4 separate regions of the Homo sapiens genome follow, and regions 1, 2 and 4 are each linked to region 3. Evidence: promoter capture Hi-C in 16 types of primary human blood cells and fetal thymus (Javierre and others, 2016). All regions are on one chromosome and are shown on one strand. The core of a region is centred on a gene start or on the middle of the fragment in contact, and the rest is flanking DNA. Distances in the headings are between cores, read along the strand shown.

Region 1 (3,715 bases), core at 637-3,136, 1.1 Mb after region 3:
TAGAAAAAAAAATAACTGTAAAGTCCACGCTGGAGTATGATCATTTGCTTGTTATGACTTTATGTGGTTTCATAAAAGGAGAGGGACAGTCATTATGTCACCGTGTTTGCAAAAATGGGAAAGAAAGAAGAGGAAGCAATAGAACTCCTGGAAAGCTACAGACCCAGTGCAGAGTGAAACCCAGTGGGGTATTGGGACGTTGGGGAAATTCCTCCAAGTCTGGAAAGCAAAAAACTGAGACACTGGATTTCAAGTTTAGAGTACATTCAAATTAGAAGTTTAAATTAAAAGTAGAAAAGAATACAGGTACAGGAGTGAATATTTGAGTTCAAGTGCCCTCTTTTTGGCAGATTCACTTCTTTGGACAGTTTTTCACTAATGATAGGTGTTTACTTCCTGATTCATGGTGGTGCTCTCAGTAGTGTGCCAGGATCGGGGGATTACGATTCGGCATTCCAGTGAGAGTTTAAGCTTTGTGAGACCTTTTGAACTGAGACTGTCGAGCCCTTCTTCTATAGTTCCAGTCCATTCAGCAGGCCCCGGTGAGAACATCAATTCCTTTATGGAACCAAGAAACTAACTAGGCAAAATATCGATTCCCCTACCCTAAGAATCATGATCCCCTGCTTTGTTCCTGAGAAAAGGGGTAGCTAGAAAACAGCTGGCCCTTTCCAACCTTCCAGAAACACCCTTGACACAGCTCCTGCATCCCCATGAGCTACCCGGTCTATACACTCCTACCCAGGTCTCTGAATATACAAGACTTTCCCATTTTTCTTGGGTCTCTGCCTTCTCCAGGGAACCCTATGCTGAGCTCTAACTAACTGACTGGGAACTACTGGATATCTAGATATTGCTATCTAGATATTGCTAGTCATCTCTTCTGAATTTTCCATGTTCATTTTGGAATAAGGAGGTGTGAAGTAATACATATAAGGAAATACAAATTGCTCAATAAACAGTAAGCGGCAAATTAGAGAAGGTACAATAGAGGACACAAAGACTAAAACGAAAATAATTTAAACTGGTAGTTCTCAAAATGGGAAAGCATCAAAATCATACAGAATGCATCTCCAAAATAAATACGTCCAGACGGCACCCAGATCCAGTGAATAAAAATGTCAGGGAGTGGAAAAAAGAGTACGATTTTTACAAAGCTCCGTAAGTGATTTCGATTCTCAACCCTATCTAAAGTCACCAGCTGAATGCAGATAGAATTTGTAACTGAGCCTGAGCATTTATTTTCGTGGCTATTTTCCTTCTGTTCATTTTGAAATAAAAAGTGTGCAGTGATCAGGTATAAGGAAACAAAAATTATCCAATGAATATTAAGCAATGAGTTAAATTAAAATTAGAATGTGATTCCTATTTTTCATTGACTACATTTTCTTCTTGGACATGTAAAACAATTCTTTTAAAACTCCTTTTTAGTTTAAGAAAACAGAATACATGAAGTTTCACAGAAAGAAATCAATGAACCCGAACACATAGAGAAGAGAATTTTCAAGTTAATTCTGTGGTTAATCTGCAGTCACTTCCTTTTTTTTTTTTTTTTTTAATTTTACTTTAAGTTCCAGGATACATGTGCAGAACATGCAGATTTGTTACACAGGTATACACTGTTTTAATTTTTATTGCTCTAATGTTTTTGGCATTCACAAGTACAAAACAATCAACAATCTTTTTTTTAGGTTGTCAGCCTAATTATTTATAATTACATATATGGAAAATAGATGTAGAATAGAAGATTGGGGAGATTGAACTAAAACTGGATTGATCCCCTAGAAGTTTTATTTTGTCATTTGGCTTTTTGTCCTAAAAGTAAAATGTCTCCAAAAATTAGCTAGTAAATAGTTCATTTTAGTTGTGTACTTATTCACAACCATTTACCGCAAGTGAACTTTAGAAGAAAGCCACCATGTTTATGTGAGGAGTTAGGATGGGGATAGGTCACATTGGCACATCTATGAGGGGCAGCCCCCAAGGATGCTTTAATACTCTACTAAACATTCTAAAAATCCCATAGGGCTTTGACCTCCCATATAACCTAATCCTAGTCAGAGGTGAGTTTACTGGCATCACCCAGCAGAAAAAGGCAGGTTCTGTGTGGGAGTAGAGATAATTAACAAGTAAAGTATGACTGGAGACTTGGGGGGCTGAGTAGTCAAAGCTGTGGTTTAAGTAACAATTTCAGTTTTGAGTAGTTGGGGCCCCTCTGATGGCTAGGAAAGCGATATTTGATAGAGAGCCAGACACTAGCTCTAAAGACCTCCCACCAGAAACTTCAGATCACCTAGAAGCAGGAAATGCTTGGTAGAACCGTTGGCAGCTCAGGATCTCTGGCCAATTTCTTAAAGGCCACATTTTAGAGTTGGAGTTGGGCTTCTCTATCATTTTCTAGTTCTCAACCTTAGTTTTCTTTTCCCCCAAGTTTAATTAAGGTAATAAGAAAAATGGTTTTGTTTATGTGGCTTCTGTCACTTAGTTCTTGGGGTACATTAAATTTTTAATTTACCAATATAAATAACTCACCTGTCAAACTTTTATTCATTCTCCAAGACCCTGTTTAGATTTCACCTACAGTATAAAGACTCACCTAATTACCCTTGGTAGTTAAGCACTCATGCTTTGTGCTGCCATTAAATTTTACAGATATCCTTATTACAGAAAAAAATATTACATTGTAACTTATGACATGTCTATCTCCTTCGGGCAAAAACCATGTTTTATTCATATCCTATCTCTGTTCTTTGGTTCTAACCTCAATTAACATTCTTGGGAAAAATAAAATAATGAGAGAAAAGAAGGAAGAAAGGAAGAGGAAAAGAAAAAACAATAAAACCTTCTTTATTTAAACAATTATTCCTAGAGGACAAGAATTCAGTTCATCCTTTGCTCACATGAAGTGATTGGAATGAACAAAAACAGACTTGCAGACAATGTGTTGAAAGAGTAGGTCAACTTTTCTTTCTACGAGGCCATCTCTCAAAAGCAGCTTATGTCTCGGAAGTGTTTCAGATCACTGTGTCTGGAAACTCTGTAGTTCCTTTCCCAGGAAAAAGACCAGGATGTCTGTTTGGCTTAAAAGCCCTTAAGAATAGCTTAAGTTATACATCCCAGTCCTCCAAATGAGTGGAAGTGCAAGGTTCTACATATAGCACCTGCTCAATAAATACTTAGCAAAGTTACACAGGAATTTCTTGAAGAAATAGACAATTCATCTGAAATGAATTCTATTTTCACTGGAGGAAAACTAAAGTCTGCACCAACTGCTCCAGAATGACCAAAGAGAGCAAGCTTAGGCTCAGCTTTCCAAGTTAGAACTGATGGCTAGTGCTCTTCCTGGGGCGGGGGGAAATGAATTCATAGTGAATAAATAGCTGGTTTTAGAAAAACTGAAAAAAAAATTTTGAAAAGGAGACTATAGAGGCACAATCTGCGAAAGTTACTTTACTATAAATATGGATTTGCGCCTGCCCTTTTTTTTTTTTGACGGAGTCTCGCTCTGTCCCCCAGGCTGGAGTGCAGTGGCATGATCTCAGCTCACTGCAAGCTCTGCCTTCCCGGTTCACGCCATTCTCCTGTCTCAGCCTTCCGAGTAGCTGGGACTACAGGCGCCGGCCACCACACCTGGCTAATTTTTTTTTTTGTATTTTTAGTAGAGACAGAGTTTCACCATGTTAGCCAGGATGGTCTCGATCTCCTGACCTCATGA
Region 2 (3,699 bases), core at 464-2,963, 1.0 Mb after region 3:
GCTCTCTTGAGGACCTTATGAGAAATCATATGGAACATGTGTCAGGAATCCTACTCCCCCTTCCCCAACGCACACATACGCACACACAAACACTTCTGGGTAGCACTTGCTTGTTTTGATGGTTATCTCAGAGATGAGGAACAAGGCTAATGTCAGGAATCCAGATGGTACTCATATTTGTCACGAAAGACTCTCTAGCATGAGCTCATTGGTCTAAATAAAACTTTGCCAGAACTGGAAAAAGTTCACCTCTTCCCTCAGAACCTAAATGTCTCACATGTGATGGAAATAGTCAATTTTCTGACCCATGAACTGAGATCTCCCTCTTCTCAGACTCAGTCTTCATATGGTGAGGCAAGCCAACATCAAGATCAGAGAATTATTGAGAGCTACTTAGCACCAACCTCAAATGCAATACCACTTAAAAATAAACTCAAAATGGAATAAATCTAACAATAAACTTAGCAAAAAGCCTCCTTACGATGTTTGGCTTAAAGGAAAGTAGCCTGCTCTGTCCCAGTTTGCGCAAAGTTTTCTAGATACCTATGAGCTCATGCTAGAGCTTCTGCCTGACAGACATGAGCACAATCTGGGTTTCTGACCTTGGGCTTTTCCCTGACATCTGAGATTGTAAGGGATGATATGGGGCGATAAATATAGTCATTTCTAGTACCTTTCACAGATAAATTATAATCTTGGGAAATGTTGCCTTGTTTAGGTCTGTGAGTAGCTGAGTGATATCCTACATCACCTATAGATCCTTATCTGAGGTACCTTCTGCCATTAGAGAACGTGTTTATTCTAATAACATAACTGAAAAATGAAGCCGAGAATCTTGAAGCTTTCCTTTTTGGCAGCTATGCTGGTTTCTGTTTGGAGACTGTCATTTATGTACCCCCTTGTGGAGCTGTAATCTCACTGCAATATCTCATTGCCACATTAACATATGCACCATACAACATCAATGTCAGCTCTTAGGGGGAAACATATCTGACAAAAAGCATCAAAATAAAAGAAAAATACTGACAAGAAGACAAAAAATTTTTCCTTCCAGAATTAACCAGAAAATGGTAACAAAGAAAGCAAACAGACACTAACAAGTGATTACCCTCACAGCTGGCATTTACACATAAAAGGACTTTGCCATATGATGTAATCCAAGGCATTGCAGGAAAATATGTAAGTGCAAGTTCTCCCTAGAGGACCCTAGGTTAGTGACCCACTGTTTCTGTTTCTGTTTCTGATTAAGAATTGAGTCGCAATTTACCAGGTAAGGTATTTTTCACAAGCACCTCATATAATCCACATAAGAACTTCATCGAGTATTATTGTCCTAAATTTACATATGATAAAATGAAGCTGAGAAACATTAAATGATTTGCCTAAGGTCACACAACCAGTAAGAGGCAAAGCTGGGACTGTCAGGAACTCAGCTGAGAGAGAGAGAGAGAGAGAGAGAGAGAGAGAGAGAGAGAGAGCTGAGTGGCCAGGTATCAGCGCAGCCTATTAAAACAACCAGTAAAAATGACAGGATTCAGCTTTTAATCACATGCTGCAATGGCATAAGCAAGAGGCTAAAACTGGCGGAGGCACTGACTCCCCCTGTTCCATTTTTCCCAAAAGAAAGGCACACCAATTAAGAGTCAGATGGATCATCATAGATATGAGAAGAGGAGTGCTGGGGAGAGAAGAGGAGAAGGGCTAGGGGTGGGGAAAATTCCTGAGTATTGGGTCAGAATGTGGAAACATGTCTTCAAGGTTTTTCCCTCCTCCTGCATAAGAAGGTTTCAGCAGAGGAACCTGAAGAAGGTCTCTGTCGGAGGTGTCAGAGACCTTGGAATGAAGGTTCCTGGGTTACGAAGGTAAATATGTGAAAGAGCATGATTGGCTGGGGGACCTGAGTCCTTGACTGCCACTCTCTCCTGAGGCTGCAGTGCATTGGCTATAAAGTCTGGTGAGGGAAAGGCAGATTTCCCCACGAGGCCTGCCAGGTAAAGCCATTGTAATTGCCTATGGTCAGGCCTGAAAATTCACACATGGATTTTAACCAGGGGCTGTACTCTTCAGGGACTTCTTCAGAGGACTTGAGATTGTAGTTTAATTTCATTCCCGCTGCACTGGGAGTAATTCCCACACATGGGGACACCATCTCTTTGTGTCTGTCCAGAATGGCATAAGCAGATTAACTACTACTCAAGTTGTCACAGAAATATTTTACATATGAGTACAAGAAAAGGAAGATAAAAGGTCGAAGAGGAAGCAAAATGGCAGAAGTGATTTTTTTTTAGGTTTGAGAACAGTAATGGTTATTACGATGAATTAAGGATAAATAAGCAATTGTTTTAAAAACTTTCTTTGTCATGGCTCCAGATACATTACTCTCTTTCTTTCTTCCTCCCAATTTCAGATCTTTTAATGCTTAACCCAGTGTACCAATCATGAGGTAACTGGTAACAATTCTTAAATGAAAAAATATTCATACAACACTAAATTTAGATCTTCCTATGTTTGTAGAACATACTGAATTCATGTAGAATTCATTAATTCCTCTCACTCTTTGATGGATACATGACAGTTAAGCTTTCTGAAGCCTACTTTGATAACTTTCAAGTAGCCAACCCTCACTGAGAATCATTTCTTGTAATTTTTTCCCTAAATTCTTCCTTTTTAAATCACTTCCTTATGAAAACAAAATTATTTTCTGGCTATTTGTAATGATAGAGAATAACACTGAATATTTAAAATGTTATCAGATAAAAGATCCAACCTGAGTTCAGCTCTAAAACTATAAGCTCTTCTTTGTCTTATTCTATCTTCCCAAGACTATTATGCCAACCTCATATCTTTTCTGTTTCTCTACCCCTGAAGATTATAGTTACTTCTCAGTCACTTCACTTCCAAAATAACATTCCTTTAAAAATCACAGTCAGCAGGGACTTCTGAGAGATTGTGTAGCCTCTCTGAAGCCCATAAAAGTAAGAGTAAAAATTGTTTGTCGCTGCATGGGTAAAGCCAGCATTTGAATTGTCTTCTTTCAAACATAGATATCCTGCAAATGGAAAATTAGAGTAACCTTGCCTCTCTCTGACTACCCTCACACCCAAGTTCAGCTTATTAGAAAGAAGCCAGTAAGGTAAAGGGAAGAGAAGTTTGCATCTCCACAATCTCCTTACATGTAGTGAGTTACTATTAGGTTGGTGCAAAAGTAATTGTGGTTTTTGCCACTTTATAATATAAAGTGCTGAATGTGGGGGCGGGTGTGTGTGTGTGTGATGTAGAGAAATAGGCATTAGTATAAGATGGCCATTGAGAGCTATAATGGCATCAAGAAATGTTTAAGTTTGCTTATGGCTTTGCTCCCCCTTCCTATAGAATCCTGTCGCTGTACTTGAGCCAGCCAATTAAGAGTCAGCTTGTTGACACACGTTAAATATGTGGTAATAAAGAAATGAGAAGAAAATAGTTTGCACAGTCCGAGTCAATTCTCATATTTCAAAAGAGAAACAAAGAATGCAACTGGCAATACGTAATCCGAATCCTCCCATCTTAGCTTCTCAAATAAAAGCAGATAGCTGTCAAGTAAGTAAAGCCCTTCTCTCAAAGACTATTCCTTCACTGTGATTAGGTTGACTCCCACCAAGAATTTCTTGTGGAACACATCTACCAGGCATGCAATATCCACGTCAAATAAATAAGAAT
Region 3 (4,165 bases), core at 999-3,498:
AATTCAGTAAGTTCTTAATCCTGCAGGAGTTGCAAAACGTTTTATTCTTCGGACTGGTTGTAAATTAGTAAAGGTTTGGAATTGCCCTGGGAAAACCACCACCATGCATTCTTAGACTGTCTTTCTCAATTTACCTTCGGTACTGAATCCATCCACACAAGGTGACTTCTTGGCCTAAGTGAGACGAACGCAACTCTCCACATGTGTTGGTCCGGACAACAAAGCTACTGAATTCTTTAAAAAAAAAAAAAAAAAGAAACTTTAAAAGGCAAGATTAAAAATACATCACTTGCAGGTTGCTTAAAAATGAAAATTCTCAAAATATATCTTAGGTATGTCAGGGCTACAGGGGAAATTTATAAAATAAAATAAGTCAGAGTATGTAATTTAATTCATTCACTATTAAATTTACCTGCAAATGTGTCAAAAGCCAAGTGAATAACTGAATGTAAATTTCTGTCTTGTGTTAGGAAATCAAAATTTTTTTGATCTTCTAGCATTTGCATTGACCTAAAATCCTAATTACCCAATTCTTAATATTGCACATTTCTTCCTCAAATGAAATAGGATTTTAGAAACTGCAGAAATGGACGGTGTAGGAACTATTTAGCTTTAGTATGAATCTAGTGTTTAACAGCCACTTGTACACTAGAAAACACTATTATAATTCTGTGAAAAATGATTTTTTTTTTTTTTTGAGATGGAGTCTCGCTCTGTCGCCCAGGCTGGAGTGCAGTGGCGCGATCTCGGCTCACTGCAAGCTCCGCCTCCGAGGTTCACGCCATTCTCCTGCCTCGGCCTCCCCAGCAGCGGGGACTACAGGCGCCCGCCACCACGCCCGGCTAATTTTTTTTTTATTTTTAGTAGAGACGGGGTTTCACCGTGTTAGCCAGGATGGTCTCGATCTCCTGACCTCGTGATCCGCCCTCCTCGACCTCCCAAAGTGCTGGGATTAACGACGTGAGCCACCGCGCCCGGCCGAAGAAGGATTTTTTTAAGGCATCAACCAAAAGCAGAGTATTCTATATATTACGTGGTTACCTTTTTGTGGTCTTTCTAAAAACTCAGGGAAAAAAAACTGCCGTATAATGAATATAATGAGAGTGAATTTCGCTTCTACACATAAGGCTATCCAGTTAAGAACAGGGGAAAAGCCGGGCGCGGTGGCTCACGCCTGTAATCCCAGCACTATGGGAGGCGGAGGCGGGTGGATCACGAGGTCAGGAGATCGAGACCATCCTGGCTAACACAGTGAAACCCCGGCTCTACCAAAAATACAGAAAAATTAGCCGGGCGTGGTCGCGGGCGCCTGTAGTCCCAGCTACTCGGGAGGCTGAGGCAGGAGAATGGCGTGAACCCGGGAGGCGGAGCTTGCAGTGAGCGGAGATCGCGCCACTTCACTCTAGCCTGGGCAGCAGAGCGAGACTCCGTCTCAAATAATAATAATAATAATAATAATAATAATAATAATGGGGGAAAAAATGAAAAATGGAATAAAAGCTCTCCGGCCGTAGATAACAGGCTGAAGTACTGTTCATAGGATAGATCTCTTCGCTATTTTCACCTGGAATTCTCCTCTGTGAACTCTGCAACAGACTTCTGTAGAGAGAACCCCAGATCGGTTGGGTGGTCCTTCTGATGGGTCTGGATAAACCCCTGTACAGCTGACTTAACCAAGAAGGGAAGTACATGTTGGAGCCACACGATGGCGAAAAACAATCACGAAATCCCACGCTGCCGGTAGTTAAAAGTCAGTTTTGGAAATACACAGAAATCCCTTAAAATTCCAGGAGTTCCCACTCTCTTCTCGAATATTTAAGGCCTCCTCCGCACAACATTGGAGTACACGTGTCTAGAAACAAGACAAATCTCCAAGGTCTCTGGGGTGCTTGCTGGGGTGGAGATAAGGGAAAGACCTCTCCCTGAGTCTTAAAGCATCAGTCTGCACTTCTACTCAACAAGTCGGCAGCCAAAAGTGACGACGAGAGAGCGACTCCACGTAGCGGCGCCAGGCGCGAGCCCAAGACAACCAGAGGCGGTCACAAGGTATACGCCCTTCTCCTCTTTCCACGCTTCTCGAGAGGCTCCCGCGGCCAGAACCGGAAAACAAGGAGTAACAGTCGCGTTTCAAATCTCGCAGACCTGCTGGCCGATTTCGAGTCTTCTGAAAGAGGAAGGCGAGCAAAGCCAAAATTCTCCCAGAGCGCGAACCCAAACACAGATCGCCGCTGGGGTCCAAGCGCCCTTCAACTCCGCCCGCTAGTGCCCAAGATTACCGGGAAGGAATTCAACGAATCAGTGGTGAGGTGCCGCCGCCATGCCTACTACGGGCGGAAATTTGAGAGAAAGCTTCGCACCGGTAGGAAAACTGAGGAGCAACCGAGCACGATTGGAAAGGTTGACGATAGTGGTTAAGTGGCTCGGCCTTGCCCTCAGTTAAAATGGCAATTTTAGTTGCTTCACTGATACGGAATCGGCGAGGCGCCAAGGAGGCTTCCTGCGTGGGGCCGCAGAGCGAGTCGGGAAACGATTTTAAACTGAAGAGGCGGCGGAGGGCCGAATTCCCTTTTCTCAACGGCTTGATTTCAGAGCTGGGCTGGTCTCTGACAGGCTCAGCTGGAGAGGGACGGGTTGGGACGCACTGTCCTTTTGCCCTTCCCCCTCCGCGAGCAGAAGCTGACTCCGCAGGAGCGAGGGTCGCAGAGCTGGGTGAGCGGAAATGTCCCTCCCAGAGTGAAGTCGCAGGGCCCGCCCCGCGTCTGAGGGAGCGGAGGTCTTCCTGGGTGCGTTTGTGTCTCTTGTGAACCCACTTGTGGAGCGAGAGGGAATTTGGGAGGGCCAGGGGTTAGTCTGGCCTCTGTCTTAGCTGTCATTTTGGCGGTTTTTTTTTTTTTTCTTCAGGGGATTTCAGTCTCCACATAGTTTTGGAGCCGGACTTTTGAAGAATGATTCGTGAATCCGGAATGGGTGACAGCGTCATCACGGCATTTTATTGGTAAAGATGCTTTGTATTGGTCCCGGACCTGCTTTAACTTTGTATTTGCCCTGTTGTGTGGTCATTATCTTACAATACTTGCGTGTTGAGGTGTGTTTAAACACTACGTGCTTAACACTGGCTAAGTATTGGCATTGGGGCGGTTGGATTTAGGTATTGGTGGCAATGTAGAAAAGTGATCAAGTCAGAGCCCCTTCACGGACTAATCACAAGAGAAACAACAAAGCTTTACTTGTGTGCTGTGAACCACAACTGCAAGTGGAATTGTCAAGAGAACTAGCCCTGCCAAGCTCAGGAAAACTTCTGAGGAGATGGCACATGGAAAATGGATAAGATTTACTGAGACAAACGGGAGTAGAGAAGTGTTTTTAATTGGCGATAAGGTGAATAAAAAGGCAGGGAGAACAGTAGAGTGATCATCTGTCTAGAGTAGGGGGTGCATGTTTGGGTATAGGGCTGTCATTTAACCTCTTAAAGAATTGTCTACTGGAACTTTCTTCACTCCCATCCCCCCACCCCCCAATGTTGTATACAAAACCTTAGAGGAAGTGTATGCAGAATGTTGGATTTTGGAAAGGCTAATGTCGATGGATCTTGGGGAAGAACTGAAGTAGTAGAAAATGAACCTGGATAGGATCAGATAATAAGATCAAATACAGTAGTGCCTTGAAAGCCAGACAGGAATTCTGATTTGACTTCATATAGATGTGTGGGAACTGTTATGGGATCTCAAGCAAGGTAATGATAAAAGTGGTGACAATGAAAGACTGATGATGGATTAGGGAAAGGGGCTAAGATTGGGAACAAGATAAGTAGCTATAATTGAGAATGAAAGTGAAGCCCACATCTAAGAGGACAAGTGTATATCTTTTTAAGAAATATGTCAGAGGCCAGGTGTGGTGGCTTATGCCTGTAATCCAGCACTTTGGGAGGCCAAGGCAGGCGGATCACCTGAGGTCAGGAGTTCAAGACCAGCCTGGCCAACATGGAGAAACCCCATCTCTACCAAAAAATACAAAAATTAGCCAGGCGTGTTGGTGCATACCTGTAGTCCCAGCTACTGGGGAGGCTGAGGCAGGAGAATCACTTGAACCTGGGAGGTGGAGGTTGCAGTGAGCCAAGATTGCACCACTGCACTCCAGCCTGGGAGACAGAGTGAGACTCTGTCTT
Region 4 (3,739 bases), core at 394-2,893, 1.0 Mb after region 3:
GAGGGAAAATACAAAGCAGGCTTCCAAAGTATCCAAAATAAGGTAATTTTCATTTTCATTTCATATCTAGCAGAATCTGATATTTGCCAGGTCAGGGGTCTTTTCACTCAGGCCTTATTATGATATGGGATTAATAATGCTATCCCTGGGATAATCCTTCCACTTTCACCACCATCAAAAACACCACAATCCTCTGCTTGTCCCCAAACTGTCTGACTACACCAGCAAATAGACATGGCTAGAGGAAAACAAAACATTCTATTTTCATGTTGTTCAGGTGCCTGGAGTACATATCTGGCACATAGTAAATTAAATATCTGTTAACAAGTATTTGTTGTTAAGTTGTTCATTTGTTTTATAAAGACAGGTTCTTGTGAGCAAGAACTGTCACCCATACTGGAATGCAGTGATGCGATCACAGCTCATTGTAACCTTGAACTCCTTTGCTCAAATGATCCTTTTGCCTCAGCATCCTGGATAGCTAGGACTATAGGTGAGCACCACCATGCCCAGCTAATGCTTTTTATCTTTTGCAGAATCAAAGGTCCTTGTATGTTAGGCTGGTCTCAAACTCCTGGCCTCAAGCGATCCTCCTACCTTGGCGTTCTAAAGGGATTACTGGTATAAGCTACTGCACCTGGCCTATTTGTTGTTAAATGAAAACATAGTCTTCCTTAGGAGGTAAGATGAGTGACAAATTACTTGAAAACTTGGTCAGGTGTTTCATATTTATGTAAATTGGTGAGATTAAAGGATGGGACCCATGAATGAGCTTCGGGAGGGGGGTGTCCAAAGTTTTTTGTCTTGTTATTTTCTGTGTGTTTTTAATGAACTCCTCATGTGCTATGAATCAGAAATCTATAGGTTGTATATGTTTTTCTTACAGGATATTCTCTCCCACAAGTACCTTGATGTGCATGAGTGTTAGAATACTACTACATTGTAGAATGAGGTGGGAAGAAAGTGAGATCCTTTGATAAAACAGAAATCTTAAAGAACTGTAATAAGAATTGACATCAGGTACTCAGTCTCTCTCCCTCGATAGTTCTTTACCTCACTTTATAACCTAACAAGTGTGTGCTTTTAGCTTCATTAAACACAGTCCAAGAGTCAAAGGCAAAGCCTCATCACTTTGCCTTTCTTGTCATCCTAACCCAGTAACTCTTTTTTTCTCTCAAGCTGCACCCATTTCCATCATTTGACCTTCTATAATTCCCTCAACCATTCCTTCAAAGCTCAGTACTAATACCCTTTTCTCCCTTATTCCCACTTTTTTCAAAGTTCCCATCTTTTTCTCCTACCCTGAAAATTCCCCACCCCGTTTGTTCATCCCTCTTTATTTCATGCACTTATTCTTACTCACCCGATTTGACCTTTGTATTTGCTTTTCTTGTGGGGTTACCCATATTTTTTACTTTCTCTTTTCCATTTTTGTCACACCTCCTGCCAAAAAACAAACAAACAAACAAACAAACAAACAAAAAACCTTTTCTCCTAGAATCCCACTTCCTTGCTCTTCTCTCTAGGTTATTCTTACCTTTCTGCTCCTCTTGAATTATATAAAGCTTGACTTCTACATTCTTACTTAGAAAGAAAATGTAATGATTCTTAAATGTCTATTACTTGTGTCCTTGGATTTTACCCCAGAACTTTTTCAGCTTCATCTAGAGTTTTTATAGATCAATATTGGCATATAACAGGACCTCCTTGTTTCAAGCTTCTTCCCCTCACATATTCACTATAGTAAAGGAAACCACATAAGCTTTAGCAAATTGGAAGGGACAAAGCTGACAAAACCATAGAACACTCAACTTGCTCTTCTTCTTCTTATTTCCTCCTTCTGTATAACTTCTCTCTGGCAAATTGTGTCGTATTATATCAACTTGCATATGATTGATTCTCATATTATTTTTGATTATAAATAGTCACATATTAGTGACTATTATAAAAGGCGATATTTCTTAATGATTAAGTAGAAGAAAAAAGAGATTAATAAGGGGGAGAAAAAACTATTACTTCTATCTAATAGTTAGTAAATGGTATTGAAAATTCTTAGGACATATATATTCTTTATGTCCTTTTGTTTCTCTCTCCTCTCCTTCTAGGACTCCCATGGTACATATATTGGTATGTGAAAAAATAATGGCAGAAAATGTCCCAAACTGATGAAAATCTTAATCTACACATCAAAAAAGCTCAACAACTCCAAGTAGAATAAGCTGAAAGAGGTACACACCTACACATGTATTAGTCAAACTGTCAAAGATAAAAATGAATCCCAAAAGCAGCCAGCAAAAATGATTCATCACATACAAGGGATCTGCAATGAAATGAACAGCTGACATATGATCTGAAACTAAGAAGGCCAAAAAAGTTGGATGACATATTTAAAGTGCTAAAAGAAAAAGAATCTCACACAAAAATTCTATATTGAGCAAAATTTTCTTTCAGAAGTGAAGGGGAGTTTAAGACATTCTCAGATAAACAAAAACTGAGAAAATTTACTGCTAGCAGATCTCCCTCACAAGAAATAGTATAGGGAATTCTTCAGGCAAAATTAAACAACACTAGAGAGTAACTTGAATCCACACAAAGAAATAAAGAGCATAAGTAAAGTTAAGTACATGGTGAAATTGAGTTTGATATTGTCCAGTCTGAGGAACAAAAAGAAAAAAAAGCGTGAAGAAAAATAAACAGTTTAAGAGTCCTAGGGATCTGGTGAGAGGTAATTGAATCATGGGGTAGTTCTTCCATGCTATTGTCATGACAGTGATTAAGTTCTCATGAGATCTGATGGTTTTATAAGGGCTTCTCCCTTCACTCAGCTTTCATACTTCTCCATGCTGCCGCCATGTGAAGAAGGATGTGTTTGCTTTCCCTTCCACCATGATTGTAAGTTCCCTGAGGCCTCCCCAGCCATGTTGAACTGTGAGTCAATTAAACCTCTTTCCTTTACAAATTTCCCAGTCTCAGGTATGTCTTAACTAGCAGTGTTAGAACAGACTAATACAGTAAATTGGTACCACAGAGAGTGGGGTGCTGCTGTAAAGAAACCCAAAAATGTGGAAGTGACTTTGGATCTGGGCAGAGGTTGAAACAGTTTGGAGGCTCAGAAGCAGAAAGAAAAATGTGAAAATGTTTGGAGCTCCCTAGACTTGTTGAATGGCTTTGACCAAAATACTGATAGTGATATGGACAATAAAATGCAGGCTGAAGTGCTCTCAGATGGAGATGAGGAACTTTTTAGGAATGGGAATAAAGGTCACTCTTGCTAGGCAAAGAGACCGGCAGCATCTTTTGGTTCTGCCCTAGAGATCTGTGAAACGTTGAACTTGAGAGAGATGACTTAGAGTATCTGGTGAAAGAAATTCCTAAGTGGCAAAGCATTTAAGAGGATGCAGAGCATAAAAATTTGGAAAATTTGCAGCCTGATGATGTGATAGAAAAGAAAACCTCATTTTCTGGGGAGAAATTCAAGCCAGTAGTGGAAATTTGCATAATCACCAAGACAATGGGGAAAATGTCTCCAGAGCATATAAGAGACACAGCAGCCCCTCCCATCACAGGCCCGGAGGCCTAGGAGGGAAAAATGGTTTCATGGGCTGGGCCCCGGGCCCCCTTGCTCAATGCAGCCTCAGGACATGGTGCCCTGCACCCCAGCTGCTTCAGCTCTAGCTGTGGCTAAAAGGGGACAATGTACAGCTCAGGCCATTGTTTCAGAGGGCTCAAGCCCCAAGCC

Evidence for each region. Contacts are between HindIII fragments. The CHiCAGO score rates a contact against its expected background, and 5 or more counts as called.
Region 1: a fragment that was not itself captured here is called in contact with the fragment with the promoter of DARS2 in region 3 in 11 of 17 cell types (naive CD4 T cells, naive CD8 T cells, naive B cells and 8 more); the score reaches 18.9 in naive CD4 T cells.
Region 2: a fragment that was not itself captured here is called in contact with the fragment with the promoter of DARS2 in region 3 in 7 of 17 cell types (naive CD4 T cells, naive B cells, naive CD8 T cells and 4 more); the score reaches 12.1 in naive CD4 T cells.
Region 4: a contact is called between a fragment that was not itself captured here and the fragment with the promoter of DARS2 in region 3, in 3 of 17 cell types (total B cells, naive B cells and naive CD8 T cells). The highest score is 16.1, in total B cells.

What each region holds. Positions count from the first base shown.
Region 1 is chr1:172,752,625-172,756,339 of GRCh38, reverse strand. No RefSeq gene overlaps it. Among named protein-coding and RNA genes, the nearest start is that of FASLG, 95 kb to the right of the region's middle. The HindIII fragment of the contact is 2,826 bases long and covers 474-3,299 here.
Region 2 is chr1:172,776,143-172,779,841 of GRCh38, reverse strand. No RefSeq gene overlaps it. Among named protein-coding and RNA genes, the nearest start is that of FASLG, 120 kb to the right of the region's middle. The HindIII fragment of the contact is 1,739 bases long and covers 844-2,582 here.
Region 3 is chr1:173,822,756-173,826,920 of GRCh38, reverse strand. DARS2 (aspartyl-tRNA synthetase 2, mitochondrial) reads right to left here and starts at 2,248. Exons shown (of 17, transcript NM_018122.5): 1 at 1,565-2,248; 2 at 135-234. The coding sequence starts at 1,691. CENPL (centromere protein L) reads left to right here and starts at 2,038. Exons shown (of 6, transcript NM_001387287.1): 1 at 2,038-2,709; 2 at 2,902-2,995. RefSeq lists enhancers at 353-866, 1,508-2,025, 1,732-2,291, 2,026-2,544, 2,522-2,761. The HindIII fragment of the contact is 2,471 bases long and covers 1-2,351 here.
Region 4 is chr1:172,814,495-172,818,233 of GRCh38, reverse strand. LOC107985225 (a long non-coding RNA gene) reads left to right here and starts at 537. Exons shown (of 3, transcript XR_001738297.2): 1 at 537-681; 2 at 887-1,020; 3 at 2,106-2,676. The HindIII fragment of the contact is 152 bases long and covers 1,568-1,719 here.